Regions from separate parts of the Homo sapiens genome. Here region 2 is linked to region 1. The links are contacts of gene promoters, found by promoter capture Hi-C in human tissues and cell types (Jung and others, 2019). All regions are on one chromosome and are shown on one strand. Each heading gives the region's core, a stretch centred on a gene start or on the middle of the fragment in contact. The rest is flanking DNA. Distances are from core to core; before and after follow the strand shown.

Region 1 (4,039 bases), core at 1,023-3,522:
CGTGGAGTTGAGCCACCTTCTCACCTGCCCCAAGCGGTGTCACTGCGCATCCCCCTCCAGAGGGGGCACCTTGTCTAACACACATGAAGGCACCACGTGTGCAGGCTCCTTGGTGACCAGCCAGCACCCTCTGGAGCCACACATCACGACAGCTTCAGGAATGTTGCGGGTCCACCCGCCCTCCCAGATCCCTTGGCTTACCTTTATTCCTCAGGAATTTCATGGGGTTCGTAGGGGATGCAGCTAAAAGGCCATCAAAGGGGATCAAAAAGAAGAGACTTTAAGATGGTTTAAGATGAACTTGGGAAAACAAGGAAATAACTTAGCATTAGAGAAGGACGCCGAACACACAGCTTCCAAATATCTAAGATGGGATGTGTTAATACATTCCTCCCAATGCCTGGCAGCAATGTGTGGGTTAATTTGCAGAAGCCTGGTGAGCCTGCTGTTCTTTTTGCACCTGGTGCTTCCTGTCATGAAGAATGACCTTTAGGAACAGGATACTTTTGGTTTCTGGTCTCCTTTTGCAGTCATACAAGTTGGGAAATCTCTGCCCAAATTAAGGACCTGGAGAGACTTAGAGTTGAAGGGGCTACGACCTCATTAGAAGGTCAGCAAGGGTTGGGCACAGTGGCTCATGCCTGTAATCCCAGCGAGGAAGGCAGATCACGAGGTCAGGAGTTCGAGACCAGCCTGACCAACATGGTGAAACCCCGTCTCTACTGAAAATACAAAAATTAGCTGGGCATGGTGGCACGCGCCTGTAGTCCCAGCTACTCAGGAGGCTGAGGCAGGAGAATTGCTTGAACCCGGCGGTGGAGGTTGTGGTGAGCCGAGATTGCGCCACTGCACTCCAGCTGGGTGACAGAGTGAGACTCCGTCTCAAAAAAAAAAAAAAAAAAAAAAAAAAAAAAAAAAAAAAAAGGATCAGAGAGCCAGGCAGAGAGGCCAGGGAACCAACAATAGTGTCCTTTCCTCGGACACAAATTACATGCAAATGTATCACACAGACAGCATTTCCCTTGCATGGAATGGAGATTATTTACAAGCATCATATATCTCCACAAAGGGTTGCTGAGCTTCAAAGATTGTCGGGGTTGGTTTTGCTGTTATAAGATAAACAAACATCCTCTAGTACTCAAATTAGAAGGGAACCATAGAAAATGCTTATAAAGAATTCTCGGCTGGGCATGGTGGCTCATGCCTGTAATCCCAGCACTTTGAGAGGCCGAGGCGGGCGGATCATGAGGTCAGGAGATCAAGACCATCCTGGCTAACACAGTGAAACCCTGTCTCTACTAAAAATACAAAAAATTAGCTTGGCGTGGTGGCGGGTGCCTGTAGTCCCAGCTACTTGGGAGGCTGAGGCAGGAGAATGGTGTGAACCCAGGAGGTGGAGCTTGCAGTGAGCCGAGATCGCGCCACTGCACTCCAGCCTGGGCGACAGAGCAAGACTCTGTCTCAAAAAAAAAAAAAAGAAAAAAAAGAATTCTGTACACTCACAAACCTTCTGTGTCTAGACTTGCATGCTCTACTGCCAAATGTGCACCAAATTCAAGTCAGACAGGCATACCTGTGTAATCTGGATGGGATCAAGGTTTTTGTGTGCGCTTATTAAAGTGAAATGAAAAAGAGAAGAAAGTGGCAATCCCTAAAGAGAAAGCAGTTAACAGAGAGTGAAGAGCATAAGATCTAATTTCCAAGCAAATGTTTATCTAATTATACTCTATTTTATGGACCTTTCTACCAGCAAGCACACAGTACACATTCACATGGCAGATAAGAGGACTCCAGGCTACGATTCTCACTCCACTGAATGAGGAATTCAATGACTCACCCGTGGATCTCGAGGCAGCCCCTTGAATCCCAGGCAACTGGGTTTTATGAAAGAACACTTTGGGCTCTTTGGTGATGTTTCTGGGTGGTTGTGACCGTTTACTGCCTTGAAAAGAAAACTTTTTGCGGTGAAATGTAATTACCTTCTTTTTATCTCCCCTGAAACAGCTTTTCAATTCTCCCTGAGTCACATAAAACCAGTGGTTGAAGCTACCTGGTAAGCCTGTTATGTTTCCAGTGGGATGGAGTCCATCTGCATACGGCAAGCATAAATGAAGTTGGCATTCCATTAAAAACAAAAACAAAATGAGGAAACCACTCTGAACCTTGTCCATCACTCTCAAATTATCAGTATTTTATCCCGTAGATGAAAGGAAATACTTAGCTACAGTCCAGCATCTGTCCTCTATTTATCTGAGGAATCAAGAAGTTCTACTCCCTTCAGAATGTTTGGGCAGTGACTTGGAGCCACCAGTGTGAGGTCAGTCCTTGCTGTGATAATGGAGTTCCTTCATGGAACCATGCTGACCAATGGGGAGACTACAGTGTAAGAGGGCAGTGCTTGGAGGTGCAGGCATGATGAGACCAGGTCCCTGCCTGCAGTGTGCAGATTAGTGAGGAGGCAGAAAGAAATCAATTACAGTCAGCCCTCCGCATGCATAGTTCCCCATCCGTGATTTCCAACAACCTCACTTGGAAAATGTTCAGGAAAAAAGGAATGGGCACGGTGGCTCACGCCTATGATCCCAACACTTTAGGAGGTCAAGGTGGGCAGATCGCTTGAGGCCAGGAGTTCAAGACCAGCCTGGCCAACACAGTGAAAGCCCATCTCTACTAAAAATACAAAAATTTGCTGGGCGTGGTGGTGCACACCTGTAGTTCAAGCTACTTGGGAGGCTGAGGCATGAGAATCACTTGAACCCAGGAGGTGGAGGTTGCAGTGAGCTGAGATCATGCCACTGCACTCCAGCCTGGGCGACAGAGCAAGACTCTGTCTCAAAAAAATAAAACAACAAACACAAAAACAAAAACTAGCCAGGCATGGTGGCGTGTACCTGTAGTCCCAGATACTCGGGAGGCTGAGGCAGGAAGATCACTTGAGCCCAGAAGGCAGAGGTAGCAGTGAGCCAAAATCGTACCACTGCACAAAGAAAGAAAGAAAAGAAAGTGGAAGGAAAGCAGTCACCCTTAGAAGGGAGGCAATGTGCACAGGGGAGACCCACAGCAGGAAGGTAAAGGGGGACTCCTGATGACTGAAAGTGGGCCCTAGGCTTCAGAGATGGGAGGAATAGAAGACGGGCTCAAAAAAGGCAATGAACTATGTCATGTATGAGGGAGACAGAGGGGACCTGGGAGTGCTGGATGTTAGGGACCACTGAAATCAATACTGTCCAGGCTGTGCATGATAGGTGAGAGGAAGGGAATACTTCCAGGAAGAAGCAGAAGTCTGGGACTTTCTTTTGACTCGTGATGTGACCTGACCAACAGGAGGCCCTTTTTTTTTTTTTTTTTTTTTTTTGAGATGGAGTCTTGCCCTGTCACCCACACTGGAGTGCAGTGGCACAATCTTGGCTCACTGCAACCTCCACCTCCTGGGTTCAAACGATTCTCCTGCCTCAGCCTCTGGAACCGCTGGGATTACAGGCATCTGCCACCACACCCAGCTAATTTTTGTATTTTTAGTAGAGATGGGCTTTCACCATGTTGGCGGCCAGGCCAGTCTCGAACTCCTGATCTCATGATTCACCCACCTTGGCCTCCCAAAGTGCTGGGGTGACAGGAGTGAGCCACTGTGCCCTGCCAGGAGGCCCTTTAAGACATTAAAAAAACTCTTATCTGTTTAAACAGAGATGGGATCTTGCTACGTTGCAAGGCTGGCCTTGAACTCCTCAGCTCAAGCAATCCTCCTGTCCCTCCCAAAATGCTGGCATGAGCCTCGGTGCCCGGCCTAGAAATTTTTTCAAGATAATAATCTTAGTAATAAGGTTATAAGTTACCAGGATGCTTGTGGTATATTGCATATGACTTATGAAATCCTTTGGAATCTCTAAATCAGATAATTTGGATTCACTCTGGCTATTAGAATACAATATCCACATCCTACTGGTAGTATGATTCTGGATATATTATGCTGCTTTCTCCAAGATGAGATAATACTGCTAACTTCATTCTCTCCAAGGGCCTTTGCACAAATCATGTAAAA
Region 2 (4,039 bases), core at 803-3,302, 100 kb after region 1:
CACCACCATGCCCAGCTAATTTTTTATTTTTTATTAAGACAGGGGCCCACTATGTTGTCCAGGCTGGTCTCGAACTCCCAGACTCAAGCAATCCTCCCACCTTGGCCTCCCAAAGCACTTGGATTATAGTCATGAGCCACCACTCCACCATGGTCCACGCATTTCTGTCACACACTCACCCCCAAGTTCTGTTTATTTTAGGAGAGTGAGGGCTTTAAAGGAAGGTCTCAGGGTTTACTGTCAAAGGAATTGATTCGTTTATTCTTCTCTTTGAGCCCAGAGTAAACAAGTATAAACCACACAGAAAATGCCCCTGGCCCTATGTGGGTTGCAAGTTAGTGGGCAAGATAGGCAAAGCAAGTCATCAGAAGAAAAGCAAGGTGAGTCATAGCGGAGAAAACACAGTAAGACGGGCCAGACGCAGTGGTTCACACCTGTAATTTCAACACTTTGTGAGGCTGAGGCGGGTGGATCACCTGAGGTCAGGAGTTCGAGACCAGCCTGGAGAACATGGTGAAACCCTGTCTTTACTAAAAAATACAAAAATTACCCAGGCATGGTGGCAGAAGCCTGTAATCCCAGCTACTCGGGAGGCTGAGGCAGAAGAATTGCTTGCAGTGAGCCGAGATTGTGCCACTGCACTCCAGCCTGGGCGACAAGAGCAAGACTTTGTCTCAAAAAAAAAAAAAAAAAAAAAAGTGATAAGATGAATACCAGCCCAGAGATGATAACAACTTGGGGATTATTGTGTTTGGTGAATGGGGTGAGGGACGTCACATTAAAACCATGGCATCAGGGCAAACCTCCGTGAAAAGACAGGCAGAGCCACAGCTGGAGAGACCTCCCCAGTACTGGGGCCTTGGTGAGGAGCTGGGGAGCTTAGATTTACCATGTCCCAGAAGCCACCCTCTCACTGAGCAGATTTCCCTGGCAGTTGCCCCCATCGCATGTGGCTGGTCCCTCAGGAGCCTGTGTCTCAAGAGCTACCTGGTCAGCCAGAGGCTGGACTTTGGAAAGCTGTTCATTTCATTGAGACATCTGGGAACCTTTCTACAAATTCATGTTCTCTCGAGTTGAGGGAAGGCTGGGCTGCACTATGTTTTGAGGCTCTGGCTTCATGGATTTGCCATGAAAGTAAGCTGAAACTCTAGGTCCCTCACTTTCAGGGATCCCTTCAAGACCAAGCGCCTAATTTTATCTTTGTAATTTTGAATTATTCTTCTGAAGAGGGACCCCTCAGTTGTGTGAGCCTTAGGCCCAACAAATCTGGATCGACCCCTGGTTCCAGCAACCCTCGTCTTAGAGACTTCTGCATGGACACTGGGAAGACAGAACCCAGCACTGCCAAGGGTAATGGATCTCCCATTTTGATGTGAGTGAAAACCACCTGAAGGTGGAGGGTGTTAAACCTGGGACCTTGCTTTGGTTGGTCCGAGGGGGTTTGGTAATCTGCACACCAAGGCACTGGGTGATTCTGAAACAGACCCGGAAGCCTCAAGTGAGAACTGTGCCCAAACTTCCTGAAGCAGTTTGTCTGCGAAGCCCATAGTTCCCAAGTGTGGCCCCATCCCAGGAGCCTCTCAGGTTGAAGGAACAGCTACTAATAAATCACTGACTTCACTGGACTCAGGGTAGGCAGAATGGAGTATCTGCCTTTCTTTGCATCAAAAGCACATCACCCTATCCTGTTCTGTATCTGCCTGAAGGAAGTCCACAGGGTATTCCCGAGACCCATCAGACACCTCACTCATTTTTTCATGATACCCAAGAGACACACTTAGAATGTACGCAGACTACACATATACCAAACACATTATACTCACATCTCATACCCTGAAAAATGACTGGGAGACATAAATACACTGAGATGTCAAAAGGAGTAGTCTGTTGCCCAGGCTGGAGTGCAGTGGCACGATCTCGGCTCACTGCAACCTCTGCCTCTGGGTTCAAATGATTCTTGTGCCTCAGCCTCTTGAAGTAGCTGGGACTACAGGCACGCACCACCATGCCTAGGTAATTTTTTTGTATTTGTACTAGAGTCAAGGTTTCACCATGTTGGCCAAGCTGGTCTTGAACTCCTGACTTCAGGTGATCCTCCCACCTGGGCCTGTCAAAGTGCTGGGATTACAGGCATGAGCCACAGTGCCCGGCCGAATCTGTGTTTTTAACTTTTACATAATTGGGAGAATTCTTTTTAAAATGGTGAAAAATGAACTTTATTATAAAAGCCCATGGCTGGGCGCGGTGGCTCACACCTAGCACTTTGGGAGGTTGAGGTGGGCAGATCACTTGAGGCCAGGGGTTCGAGACCAGTCTGGCCAACATGGTGAAACCCCATCTCTACTAAAAATACAAAAGTTAGCCGGGCATGGTGGCAGGGGCCTGTAATCCCAGCTATTCAGTACACCACGGCGAGAGAATCGCTTGAACCTGGGAGGCAGAGCTTCCAGTGAGCTGAAATTGTGCCACTGCACTCCAGCCTGGGTGACAGAACGAGGCTCTGTCTCAAAAAAAAAACAAAAAAAACTTTCAAAGGAATTTAAAAAACTGAAATAAATGTCCTCATAATTTCATGACCCTAACACAACTACTCTTTGCATTTCTATACTTTGTCTGCTAGGATTTGACAACTAATGCCCACTGTTTACACAGTTGCAACAGAATCAACAGTTACATTCTACTTGAACTACACTTACAAATTACTCTTCCAGCGCCGGGCGCGGTGGCTAACGCTTGTAATCCCCAGCACTTTGGGAGGCTGAGGCGGGTGGATCATGAGGACGTGAGTTTGAGACCAGCCTGACCAATATGATGAAACCCCGTCTCTACTAAAAATACAAAAATTAGCCAGGTGTGGTGGTGCGCACCTGTAATCCAGCTACTCCGGAGGCTGAGGCAGGAGAATTGCTTGGAGCTGGGAGACGGAGGTTGCAGTGAGCTGAGATCACGCCATTGTACTCCAGCCTGGGCAACAGAGCGAGAGCGAGACTCTGTCTAAAAAAAAAAAATTCTTCGATTTTGCTAGTCTTAATTATCATTTATGCCTTTTTACTATTGCTTTGAATGGCTCTACCATTCATATTTAAGTCATAGTATTTAACTTCATGCAAACCAGCATCCTTGTGTATATATATATTTTTGGTCCTTTTTTTTCCTTTTTGTGGAGGAAAAAGTGGGGTCTCACTATGTTGCCCAGGGAGGTCTTGAACTCCTGGGCTCAAGGGATCCTCCCACCTTGGCCTCCCAAAGTGTTGGGATTATAGGTGTGAACCACTGTGCCTGGCCCCGTATTGTTACTGAATACAGTTGGACTGTTAGCTTTCCAAAATGATTGCACTAGTTGACACTGATTCATAAAACTCTCCTCAACTCAAATAGTGATGGCAGACATGTATTTGTCTGCTTGGGTTGTGATCACAAAATACCACAGGCTGGGAAGCTGAATCAACAGGAATTTATTAATATTTTCTCCCTGTTCTGGAGGCTGGAAGTCAGAGTGGGTTCCACGTGAAGCCTCTCTTCCAAGCTTGTAGATGGTTGCCATCCTGCTGTGTCTGCACCTGCCTATGGCCTTTCCTCTGTGTGTGCATGGAGAGGGAGCAATCTCTGGCGTCTCTTGCTATCTCTTTTTTTTTTTTTTTTTTGAGATGGAGTCTCGCTCTGTCGCCCAGGCTGGAGTGCGGTGGTGTGATCTCAGTTCACTGCAACCTTCACCTCCCAGGTTCAAGTTATTCTCTTGCCTCAGCCTCCCAAGTAGCTGGGATTACAGATGCCTGCCACCACACCTGGCTAATTTTTCGTAGAGATAGGGTTTTACCATATTGGCCAGACTGGTCTCGAACTCCTGACCTCAGGTAATCCACCTGCCTCAGCCTCCCGAAGTGCTGGTACAGGCGTGAGCCACTGTGCGTGGTCCTCCCTCTCTTTTTTTGAGACAGCGTCTTGCTCTGTCACCCAGGTTGGAGTGCGTGGTGTATCACAGCTCACTGCAGCTTTGACCTCCAGGGCTCATGTCATCCTCCCACCTCGGCCCCCCACG

Evidence for each region. Contacts are between HindIII fragments. The study calls those that stand out against the background at their distance.
Region 2: a fragment that was not itself captured here is called in contact with the fragment with the promoter of C19orf18 in region 1 in 3 of the 25 tissues and cell types used here (IMR-90 fibroblasts, aorta and pancreas).

The regions. Positions count from the first base shown.
Region 1 is chr19:57,972,262-57,976,300 of GRCh38, forward strand. It overlaps C19orf18 (chromosome 19 open reading frame 18), which reads right to left and starts at 2,273. Exons shown (of 6, transcript NM_152474.5): 1 at 2,051-2,273; 2 at 1,838-1,942; 3 at 202-243. The coding sequence starts at 2,171. The HindIII fragment of the contact is 10,862 bases long and covers 1-4,039 here.
Region 2 is chr19:58,075,996-58,080,034 of GRCh38, forward strand. No RefSeq gene overlaps it. Among named protein-coding and RNA genes, the nearest start is that of ZNF135, 19 kb to the left of the region's middle. The HindIII fragment of the contact is 6,468 bases long and covers 1-4,039 here.